Linked DNA regions of Homo sapiens: region 2 is linked to region 1. Evidence: promoter capture Hi-C in human tissues and cell types (Jung and others, 2019). All regions are on one chromosome and are shown on one strand. The core of a region is centred on a gene start or on the middle of the fragment in contact, and the rest is flanking DNA. Distances in the headings are between cores, read along the strand shown.

Region 1 (6,193 bases), core at 2,588-5,087:
TGTAATTATAAATAAATAATGAATTTTTATTAAAGTGTTGTATGAACATAGGTTTTTGTTTGTTTTTGAGACAGTCTCCCTCTGTTGCGCAGGCTGGGGTGCAGTAGCGCAATCTTGGCTCACTGTAACCTCTGCCTTCAGGGTCCAAACGATTCTCCTGCCTCAGCCTCCTGAGTTGCTGGGATTACAGGTGTGTTCCACCACACCTGGCTAATTTATATTTTTAGTTGTGATGGGGTTTCACCATGTTGGCCAGGCTGGTCTTGAACTCCTGACCTCAAGTGATCTGCCCGCCTTGGTCTCCCAAAGTGTTGGGATTACAGGCATGAGCCACCGTGCCCAGCCTGAACATAGTTTAATGGTACTTCAAGGCTAATAAGGAAAGCCCCTTGCTCCATCCTTTCCTATTCCTCAGTCCCATCCCAAGAGACATTCAGCCTTCAGTTTTTTCTAGCTCGGTTCTTTCAGCCTTCAGTTTTTGGTTTTAGGTTTCTAAATAATATGATTATACAGCCATTTATTTTTTAGGTGTTTGTCAACTTACTATTAAGACAGGTGAAAATTTCTTTTATTGTTTCACATCCTTCTAATATTATTTTGGTTAGATCATGTACCTGTTTGCATAGCTGTGATCATACTTGTATGTTCACTCGTGAATTAATTTAATGTGCTTACATTTTCATTCTCATACAACGTTTTGTCTTGGAGTTAATGCTCTTTTTTTTGGCTTTTTATGCACATCATTGATTCTTCCCAAACAGTCCCAAATAAATTTGTCACAACTTTTCTTGATTCTGTACTTGTTTCAATCTAGACTAGTTTCTCTCATCCAATTGTATAGCAGTTTTCCTGAGACAGCACTATCGTGAGGATTTGTTTTTCTTTCTCTTGAATTGTATCCCTCATTTTCTGGATCCCATGTCTTAATTTACTTCTTTGTTAACATGGAGCACTTCTTTCAGTAGTTTCTTGGGAATGAGTGCGTGAGAGATCAGTCAGTTATTTAGTGACTTCATATTTCTGAAAGATAGTTTGCATGGAAATTCTAGGTGGAAAATCAAATTTGGAATTTTTGAAAATTTTGACAAGTGTATTCAAATTCAGAATTTTGAAGGCATTGCTCTATTCTAATTTGCAAAATCTTGAGATATCTGATGCAGTTTTTATTTTTATTTCTTTGTTTTCTCAGCATCTCTGTTTCTAGTGTTCTAAAATTGCATGATACTGTGCTTTGGTGGGATTGGCAACCTGGAAAATATTAAGTTCTTCATCTCTTCTCTTCCTCCTCATTTTCTTTGTTCTGGAACTCTATGACATAGTGGAGCTCCCAAATTGAATCTTGGGCCTTATTTATTTTTTTTTTTTCTGTCTGGGATATTTCTCTAAGACAATTTTCCAATTTGTATTGCATTTTGTTTTTGGCTAGCATTAAATTACTTGCCTCTGTGTAGCTCCATGCCACACTCTTGCCTCTAAATCCTAGGCCTGCCTGAATTCTGCAGGATCAGTCCTACTGTCACTCATCTGTGATAGCCCTGCTAAGGCAGATACCACTCTTCTTACCATGTTCAATACATTTATTGAGCTCTTCAGTATTGTTTCTTCCTATTTTAATTTTTCTGGTTTTGTAATTTGTACTCCTGCTTTTTTACTGGGCTTTTGGGAGGAAGAAGGTATAGAGTGTTAATCTGCATGTTGAATTTATATGCAGGTGACTTTATTCATGAAACTTGTGGTAACTGCTAGACAAGGGTGGCTGGGTGTTCAATGTGTAAGAATGCTTGTGTTTTCTTGAAAGTAGAAAAATGTTGTGTTATAGACTAGTTGTTCATTGCTTGATTCTTGATTAATTTTGCCCGCTTTCATTATTTTGAGGCTCAAGCATTTTGAAGTATTCATTGTCTGTGACTCCTCTTTGATGGGTACTAAATTTCCTGGGAGTGAATTTAGATACCCTGAGATGTAATATATGAAAGAAAAAGCAAATACTTGAGAATGTCCCTAGATTAGACACTTCATGTGAGAATATCTCTTTTTGTGACCCAAAACTCTTTTTTTTTCTTTTGAGATGAAGTTTCGTTTTTGTTGCCCAGGCTGGAGTCCAATGGTATAATCTGCCTCAGCCTCCTGAGTTGCTGGGATTACATGCATGTGCCACCACACCCGGCTAATTTTGTATTTTTAGTAGAGATGGGGTTTCTCCTTGTTGGTCAGGCTGGTCTCGAACTTCCGACCTCAGTTAATCTGCCTGTCTCGGCCTCCCAAAGTGCTGGGAATACAGGCATGAGCCACCGCACTCGGCCCCAAAACTCTTCTTAAAGGTGGTCTTGCAGGTATGTTATAGTTAAAATGAAGTAGGTTGTCTTGCTTTGTTCTTAAGTGGCTTTCCAGAAGTCTAACTGGTCTAAAGGCAGTCTTATCCCCCTCACTGGTGTATAGTTCAATTCAGACTTGAATGCGAGGTATGGGTTTACATCTCATCTCTGCCACTTATAATCAGTGTATCCCTCAACAATTAAATTCCTTAGTCTCCATTTCCTTCCTCCTTCAGGGGAAGTTAATATTCCACAAAGTTAGAAGTTACAGGAGAGGAAAAGTAGTAAACGCCCCAAAATGAGGCAGTTACTTCTATTATATCTTCAAAGGATACATGGCTCAAGGCAGATCAGGTAGTTGGGAGATTTCTTAAAAACAGCATAATAGCTAACATGAACATTTTCATTATTCAGAGAAATTTGACATAGCTTTTTAACGTATGTTTCTGAGAAAAGTTACTAGTTATATTGTCTTCCTCCAAGAATTAGTCTTTGGGTACAGATGAGGCTTGAAAAAATGACATTCCCTCTTAGACTAGGTAGTGTGAAGGGAAAAAAAAAATGACATTCCTCTTCCCCCAAAGCAGAGTGAGGTCCGTATGGGATATAGGTGTAAAGAAAATTTTGGGCCGGGCATGGTGGCTCAAGTTTGTAATCCCAGCACTTTGGGAGGCCGAGGTGGGTGGATCACTTGAGGTCAGGAGTTCAAGACTAGCCTGACCAACATGGTGAAACCCCATCTCTACTAAAAATAAAGAAATTAGCCAGCTATGGTGGCACATACCTGTAATCCCAGCTACTTGGGAGGCTGAGGCAGGAGAATCTGGAAGCAGGAAGGTCTCAGTAGGCTGGGATCATGCCACTGCGCTCCAGCCTGGGCAACACAGCAAGACTCTGTCTCAAAGAAAATTTTGTGGAACACCTATTTTCTCACTGACATGAAAAATGTTTCAAAGATGAATAATGTCCATCAAGCTATGGCAATGGAAGTGAGGATGATAAAGGATTGCACAGTTGTTCACAACCTCACTGTTAGTATCCTGCTGAGATAGTTGGTCTCCTCATCACTGTAGCATCTTTTATGTACAGCAGAGGGCAGAAGCTCCTTGGCATGTATGTGAGGGAACCACATATATGGAAGGCTGTTATTCCTGAGAAAGGAGGATGTGCAGACACTCACAGAACAAAGCCTTTGTAAAGGAAAGGCGGCCGATGAGATGGAGTGCTTCCTTCACCTGTGGTGGGTCTGTATCCATGAAATCGCCCACTCACAATCGCTTTTTGTAGCTACTGGAAGCACTAGGCGTCTGACCTGCCATCATCCTTGTTATGATGTCATAATCATATTCTGTCCGTGTTTATTGCAGTTCTCTGGTTTGTCTGGAGTGTTTGCAAGTCAGTCATCATAGTGGCAGCTTCCGCCTGCTACAGGATATTTATATATGGAAGCATACCATGGCAGGAGTGCTGGAAAGGTGGTGTCAGCTAACAGTTGCTTCAGCCAGATAAGGACGGTAACTTCAGTCCAATAAAAACCTCATCAGTTACCAACTAAATCAGGGCATGGTGTTTTTTTGTTGTTTTCTTTTTAAAGCATAGTTTTAGTAATATATTTACTAAAAACCTTAGACATTATGAAAAAAGTCAGGATTTGGAATCTTACACTGCTTGGCTAAATTGACACAATATAGACCAACAGTTTCATCCTGGGGCTTATGGGTCTCATAGGAGCACCCGTATGCTGAAGAAAGGCAAAGAGAGAACTACAGAATTTGTAGAAAAGTTTTGTTGTAGTTGCTTCTGAACAATTAGTTTTTGTTTGTTTGTTTTGTTTTGTTTTGTTTTTCTGGTAACCTAGCAGTCAAAGCTCACATTTTTGTAAGTAATTTGCATGCTATTACTCTACTGAGACTGAATTATGATTCTCGAGTCTGGGAAGTTTTTGTTGCATGTGCTCTGTGTTTTTCATTTTTGATAGAAATGATTTAGACTTGATTTTAAAAATTACTTCCTGAATGTGAAGAGGCATTGACTGGGAAATGAAATTAAAGAACAAATTACCATGACTCATTCAATAACACTGCTTATTAGCTTTGAATTATGCCCTATTATAACAATTCTGATTTTGTGGCAAGCAATACTGGTGTGAGTTATTTCTGTGGTTTGATACCAAGCACCTGCCTGGTTAAAAAATAAAGCACCAGGCAATTTTTCATAGACAATTATCTTTATTTGTTGGAATATTTATTTGTAAATAGTCAAAGAATTCTTAAATGACAAAAAATCAACTGTTAGCAGTGATCTAAACCAGAGGAAAATGAAATTACTTACATGTTTCCAGTCAAGGTATAAGAAAGGGTTCTGTTAAAGGGATGCTGCTTTAGCCAATCTTGGTGAATAAGCAAATTTGCACACTGGAGTTGAAAGGAGGGTCAAGTTAGTGTGATGAAGAATTGCTAGTAACACTGGCTTCTCCAGCCTTGCTGGTTGTTCCTAGATGCCCTCATTTGGAGATGCCAAAGATAGCAACTACTGGGTGTCAAACAGCCGTGGGGCCTGGTTTTAAGGCCATGTGATCTTGTATCCCTTTACTAGCAGCCTCATGAGTCATTTGCAAGTCATTTGCAGGCTCTTGGAGCCCTGGAACAGCACCCAACTCAGTTTTCTCTGCTAGTTCTTTATTTTTCCATTTGCGTGTTGCAGCTCATTAAAAAAATATTGGAATAGCATATATTTACATTGTGACTTCACTCTAAAGAAGACATTTTCTTTCAAAGCACGTCATGGCTCACTAGGTTGTTGTCTTAGTTTTTTTTGGAGTCACCTTTTGAGTAGATAGCAAGACCAGTAATATGGAGATTTTATTAGCTGTACTCTTAAAGTCAGTTTTTGTGGCCATGATTTTCTAGCTAGGTCTCTATTTTGTAAACATTGATTAAGCCTCAGTATGAAATTGAAGCAACAGCAGATACATTCCTGAAGGGGAAGCTAAGGCTCAAGGCTATTAAGTCAGAGATCCAAAAATGAACCATGCTTCAGTTACCACACCTAAAATAGAAGCTGTGTGCAGAACAGTGGTCCTGTGATGTGACACATAAAACTTTTTTTCCTGGTCACATATTACTGTTTGGTCAAATATTAGTATAAATGGATGATAAAATATGAAACACATCTAAAAGAATTGTTTTAAAATCTGTGACTATGCATGAGTGAATATTTTGGGGCCTTGGTTTTAACTGCAAAAGGATAAGATTTGACTGACCTCTAAGGCCCTTTTACTCTATTTGCTGCTGCTTTTTAATTTTTTTTAATTGTCATATCAAGTCATTTCCTTAGGAATGCTCTATGAAGTATATTTGGAATTCAGTAATGTCAATAAAGTGCTATGGTAGTATCTTATCTGAAAACTCAGGGAATTGTTTGTTCTTGTTAATTAAAATTTCAAGATAAGTGAAACACACTTTTTTAGTTTTAACCCTAAAAAAAATTTTTAGTCCATGACTTTTTGAGCTCACTTTCTTAGCTAGGGTTCTGGTAGCACATTTTTCACAAGTACCAGTAGTTTTAGGTATTACTGGGAAATTGTTTTTTTAATATTTTAGACTAAGTTTAAATTGCTCAGTAAGTGTCTGATACTTTTTTTCCCCACATCTTCTTTAGGTGTATACTTTTTTTTTTTTTTTATGAATTTGGTTTCTCCCAACTCTATATTGCTCTTCATTCTGTAGATGAGTTTTAAAGGAAATTTTTGCAACAACAGAAAGTAAACAGTGTGTTGTCAAATACACACAGGCACCATATTTATCGCATTGACTTTACTAGAGTCCAGATAGACATCACATGAGGATTTTTATCCTCAATCTTATTTCTGTTCATGT
Region 2 (6,425 bases), core at 834-3,333, 540 kb before region 1:
GGTCATGTTATCTTTGTTTACGTGGTGTAGTTCACCTGGGAGACTGTTAAGGTTCTTGAGGACTGGATCTAGGACTGGCTGATATTTGAGTTTCCTTTAGTACTTTGAATGCTGTGGATGCTTAAAAACTGTCAGTGGTATGAATGGATGGATGGATGGATGGATGGATGGATGGATGGATGGATGGACGGATGGATGGATGTCCCTCTGCCTGGTAACTCATAATGATTTGTAAGCATGTGGTTCTGTTATCCATCCTTACTGCCACTACTCTCCCAGATTGGCTGGGGAAAAGTTCCTTCATCTGAACATATGTGTAAATTCACTACTTTATTAGCCATGAATGCATCCTCCCAAGAGGCCTGAACATCAAGATTCTGTACACTATCAATCAAAATCTCCCACAGCGCAGGTTCTGTTTCCTAGTGATCAAGTCTGAGGCAGATAATTCATAATTGTTTGCTCACATTTTTATTTATTTTATTGCCACAGGATTTTGCAGGATGAACATGATGGAGGTGATTTTTGAGCCAATTAACAGTGGGATATCTAAATGAGCGCCGAATCTTAAGAGGGCTGGAAAATTAAGATGGAATGAAACCATCCCACCTGTCTAGTTGTAAGACACCAAACTGCCATTTAGCACATTCTGCCTCCAGTTTTCTTATTTCAGCCCAGTGGGGAAGAAAGAAAGATGGCTTGCTTCCTATTAGATAGTTAAGTGATTCCAGAATTCATGCTTTTAACCTACAAAACTCAAAACTCAAAACAAACAAACAAACAAACAAAAGCTCCTAAAGTATGTGACTAAAGTATCTTCCAGGCTCAGGCAGGCATTTGCTACTGTTCTTTGAGTCCCAGAAGGGCTGGGGGTTCAGTCACCTTATCAAATAGAAATTTCTCCCCAATTTTTTCTAACAGGCACTTTCCCATGTTTGACTAAATTCACAGTTCCTTCCTAATCTACAGTGACTGTTTTGACTGGTTAGTATTACTCTTGAAACAGCATCACTATTTGCTGAATGGGCATTTTTCAGGAATTTATCTTCTATTAAGAATTACCCAAAACCTTATTTGATGCTTATGGAAAAGCAGACAATAAAAAAAAACACAAAGAGCAGAACAATTTGTCTTCATGAGTGTGACTGTCTCCCATTGGCAGGGCTGGAATGCATAGGTCTTATTCCGCTGGCTGCCTCATAAAGGGTGATGATGGGACTGTCTGTCCCTCTGTTTTCCCACTGACAGGATAAATACAATACTTGCTACTCACACCTGGAAAGACTACTTTAAGAAATGATGAGAGTGTGTTTGTGAGGAATTTCAGTTTGCTTAAAAAGCCACATAACAGCAGCATCATCACCTTACTAGACTATGGTGTGAAATAACACCTGGAAAAATACAAATTATTAACTGGAGAGCTCAGATGCTGGAGCAAGACAGTCCTGACCTCAAATCTGCTTCCTTTTCTTATTAGCTAGGCAACATGGGGCAAGTTATTTAACTCTCGTTCCCCTATGAGTAAAACTGAGTAGGAGCGTCTGTCTGCTTCATGGGTTTGTTGTGAGGACAAAAGGATACGACACATGCAAAGTGCTTAACACAGTTCCTCACACATAGTAAGCACACAGTAAAGGGTGGTTATTATCAGTCATTAGCATTTCAAATAAACTACGTTTTATGACCACCAGTTAAGTATGGAAAGAAGGGTATCATGGATTTAAGCTTAACCACTGAAATTGAGGGTTGCTATGTGATAAAAAGAGTAGCAACTTTTACCACCCACTAATTTCACCAAAAGTTTTCAAGTTTAACATCAACATCACAGGTGTTTTCCTTTTTAAGAGGGATGAAGAGAGTTACCGGTCCTAAACCACAGACTATAGATAAATCTTTGTCAATGAATTATTGAATGTGTTACATAGGTCCCATTGGATGGAGAGTAGAAAAATCCATGAAACCCTGCAGCAGAGGTCAAAAAGGCAATTTTAAGTATATGTCCCATAGGCAGTGGGCCACTTGTGTTACCATCACCTATGAAAAATCTACTGGCACATATTAGGTATATTAACACAACCTCCAGAATGGAATACGAAAGCCAGTTCACTCATGGAGGTAGCCAATGGTGTGGTCCTCAAACCAGGAGTGTGGAAACCCTAATAAGTCTGCTCTGAAGATGTTGCTGTATATTAGGCCTCAACGTCCAAGCCTGTGGGGAGGTGGCACGGTGGTGTGGGCCAAACCCATGTGCATTTAAAAAAATCATTTAACTTAGGATTTGGAATATATCAAGTAACTGTCTTAGTAGAGAACCATGGGTTAAACTGTATCCCCCAACAAAGGTAACGTTGAAGTCCTAACCCCCAGTACCTCAGAATAAGACCTTATTTGAAAGAGCGTCTTTACAGAGATAATCATATAAGAAGGTTATTAGGGTGAACCACACTCTAATATGACTGTATCTTTATAAAAAGGAGAAATTTGTAGCCAGGCATGGTGGCATGCGCCTGTAATCCCAGCTACTCAGGAGGCTGAGGCAGAAAATCTCTTGAACCTGGGAGGCGGAGGTTGCAGTGAGCCGAGATTGCTCCACTACACTCCAGCCTGGGTGACAGAGCGAGACTCTGTCTCAAAAAAAAAAAAAAAAAGTTGGGGGGGTGGGGGATTGGACCCAGAGAAAGCCATGAACACCATGTGAAGATGAAGGCAGAGATCAGAGTGACGCGTCTACAAGCCATGGATCCCCCAGTGACTGCCAGCAAAGCACCGGAGGCCAGGAGAGAGGCACGGAGCAGATTGCCCTCACAGCCCTCAGAAGGAGCCAACTATACTAATATCTTCATCTGGGAAATGTGAGACAACACATTTCTATTGTTTAAAATCTATTTATGGGCTGGGGGTGGTGGCTCACGCCTGTAATCCCAGCACTTTGGGAGGCTGAGGCAGGTGGATCACAAGGTCAGGAGATTGAGACCAGCCTGGCTAACACGGTGAAACCCCGTCTCTACTAAAAATACAAAAAATTAGCTGGGTGTGGTGGCGGGCGCCTGTAGTCCCAGCTACTCAGGAGGCTGGGGCAGGAGAATGGCGTGAACCCGGGAGGCGGAGCTTGCAGTGAGCTGAGATCACACCACTGCACTCCAGCCTGGGCAACAGAGCGAGACTCCTTCTCAAAAAAAAAAAAAAAAAAAATTTACTTATGCCTAGTGTTCCATTATTGGAATGCTAAGCATGTGGAGTTATTTATATCCTACTGCTCAAGGTCATCGCCGAGATAGGATTGCAAAAATTTCAAAAAATTGCAACCTCAGGCATAAATGGGTTAAGCCATGCAGTTTGTGGTACTTGGTTAGGGCAGGCCCAGCAAACTAACACCTAGAGTAGGATGGAAGTCATCTGGGCTTCCCTTCCCCAATTCTAATAAATTTACTTCAAAAAGTACTTTCACTTTCCAAGAACACATTGACTGTCTGAAGGTAAAGACGTGCTAGGTTTATAAATTCAAAGGTGGTATCCCACATAGTAGACGGTCTACCTAACTGGTAAACTGTCTGTACTCATTGGTTCTTAATTCAGTAATTCCTCTGACTGGCAAATTGTGGCTTGTAGGCTCACTTGCAACAAGTCTACAGATTACTGGGTTTTTGAGGAATGGCTCATAAACCACCCATTGTTCTTCTCTACCCACCTAAAGTAGCATTCGCCCAAGTAGGACCCACATGTACCCCTGTGCCTACCCCAGCCATCACCACGTGCATGTTTCTTACATGTATACTTTCAGAATGAGGTCATCCTTTGTCTCTCCTGTTAGCAGGTCAGCGATGCTAAGAACTGCACAGCCAAAGGGTCGTCGGTACTGGACACTACAGGCATTCTTTTTTTCTCCTGCTCCCATTCGACCTGTTCAATTAAAGAGCAATCATTAACCCATGGAGCCATTTGATTAGATGCATCTTAGGTAGCGAAACATACAGCTATAAGATAGGCCATTGAAATGTAATTGGGCAATAAAGAGCACCCAGGTTGGGCGTAACAGAAGATATTGCTTCAGTTCTGGATTCTCCTCTCCAGTCACCTAGCTGTGTGACCTTGGGTAAGCAGCTTAAATTCTGGGCGTCAGTTGCCATCTGTAAAATACAAAGACTGGAACAGATCCCATGTTTGGGAACCATCCCCTGGCCCCTGAGATTCATGAAGGCATCCCAGGAAGTTCACGTCACTAAAGGCAGTAATGGTGACTCTTCCATTTTCTATTTTTAAACAAATTCCATATTCAAAAAAACTATTTCAAAAATTTCACCTGTGACTAGAGTAGTTTGAGGTTGTCTGAAGTACAGCAAGTAAGCACAGGTGATCAAATGTGCATGCTCCTGCCTCAGCTCTCAGGCTGTTCAGAACTCAGTTGTCACCAAAATGGTTTTAACTGTTGTAAAGTTTTAACTTGTTTAAATTGTTACATGTTTAAAAATATGTTATTAATACATTGTTTTAATGTATTGTTGGTATTTAATTATCAGTGGATTATTTTGAAGACAAAAAGCAAAAAGTACACTGAAGTTGAAATATAACAAGTTAATGTGGGAAAAAATGATTTTAAAAATCTGCAAATTTGTCTCTAGGTGCTTTTCAACACAACCATAAATTGTTTCTATCTGAGCAAAATTCTCCTATAGCACATCAAGATATCTCCAGCAATTCCAAAATCCAATGTTAAGCAGGAAAAAATGGGATGACAATATCCAATTTGGCTTTCATTCATCAGTAGTAAAGGAAAACTACCTCTGCAAGATGTCACTTTCAGGGAAACACAGCCCGAAAACCTCTTATTTTATCAGTTAGAATCAAACTAAAAAATGGCCCAAATAAGCCAGCTGCTTTTCAGATGTGCAAAATGTAAGAATTTAAAATATCAGGTTGTCATGACCTGATGCCATATGTATGGCCAAATTTCACTCTACATAATTTTAATATAAATTCTGTCTGAAAACCGAACACTTTATGTCATACTTGAATTTAATTATCAACCAATCCTACTTTTACTTACACAACTGATTTAAACAAATTTAAAACTTTGGTCACTTTTTTAAATGAAAAAAAAGGTCTCAATTTATGTCTATTTTGAATAATATTACAGAATGTATTAGGATGAAATATTAATATGTATGGCAGTCTTTATCAATATCGTGGTTTAAAACATGCTTTTTTCTTAATCATTTCCTTGCAAATACAAGATGACAAAAGGATAAGATTTCTGAGTGGAGCACTTCAAAGTTATTTAACATCAGAAAGAAGCTCCTTATTAAAAAAAAAAACTAGAAACTGCAAACAAGATTATTCCTAATGACTCTGCTAGCTCCTACAGTTTACACAAGGGCATGCACACATTTCAATCCTTTTTTGTTTGTTTGTTTTTAAACAACCCCTTCATCTAAAGCTGCACTAAAGAAAAAAAACTGTAGGGGACAGAAGGAATGGCAAAATAAGGGAATAAGGTTGATGGGAGAAGTGTAGCTCTCACAACCACTTAACACTCTCCAACAAGGATTTTGTCACTTGTGACCCCTGGGAAGCTTATCTCCCAAACCTCCACCTGACTCATGTCTTCAAACATGCAAGTTTAACGTTAAGCCACGGCTTTAGACACCATTCTAATTACTATACTGGAAAGATGTTTTGGTGCCAGATCAGTGGCACCAACCCTAGAGTTAATAAGAATTCACAGTTCTGACTGGGCTTTGGGAAACCCGATCAGATTTCTAGCACATTCTCTAAGTAGGAAGGAAGGTAGTGGGAGTGGGGGAAGGGAAAAGTACTGAGCAATCAACCAAAAGTCAAAAGGGAGGCATAGAGGTTGAAGAAACTTCCTGGCATGAGCAGGAAGATATAAAACTATTAATTTCTCTTTTTTTTTCCTCTCCATCTTTCTAAAGAGCTGGACTTAAATTCCCAGAAGTGAGGTACTGTTGCTCCTGCTTTCTGCAGCCAGTGATGGCCAACATGCCCTTTTCCTACTAAATAGGTACAAGAGACATTCTGTAAGAAGTATGTGTCCCTTGTTAAATATAGTGAACGCCAAGTTTCTCTTCAAATAATCAGTATGTCAGCATGTTCAGCTCTCTTATTCTTTGATTCTCCATTTTAAAGTTTAACTTCCTGGTTCTCTTCACCGCCTTGCCTCTAGTTTCAATAAAAAACTTTCCTGCCAGTTCTGATCAGTAGTTTACATCTGTTCCCCTGGTCACCTGCTCTGTCCTGACTCATCCCGGTCACCTGCTTTGACCTGAGTCACCCTGGTCACCTGCTCTGACCTAAGTTACCTTTAGTTACCTGTTTCTAACCATCCTTCCTGCCAAACTACTCACCCCGCCACTCTGGCTTATACTCCTGCTCTTTTCAACATAGTCAATCAGAATTAGCTTAGACTG

The links. Contacts are between HindIII fragments. The study calls those that stand out against the background at their distance.
Region 2: a fragment that was not itself captured here is called in contact with the fragment with the promoter of LSMEM1 in region 1 in 1 of the 25 tissues and cell types used here (heart left ventricle).

The regions. Positions count from the first base shown.
Region 1 is chr7:112,477,154-112,483,346 of GRCh38, forward strand. LSMEM1 (leucine rich single-pass membrane protein 1) reads left to right here and starts at 3,838. Exons shown (of 4, transcript NM_182597.3): 1 at 3,838-4,193. IFRD1 (interferon related developmental regulator 1) reads left to right here. Exons shown (of 12, transcript NM_001550.4): 12 at 1-50. The HindIII fragment of the contact is 9,789 bases long and covers 1-6,193 here.
Region 2 is chr7:111,936,343-111,942,767 of GRCh38, forward strand. DOCK4 (dedicator of cytokinesis 4) reads right to left here. Exons shown (of 53, transcript NM_001363540.2): 11 at 3,768-3,900. Among named protein-coding and RNA genes, the nearest start is that of DOCK4-AS1, 130 kb to the left of the region's middle. The HindIII fragment of the contact is 3,128 bases long and covers 520-3,647 here.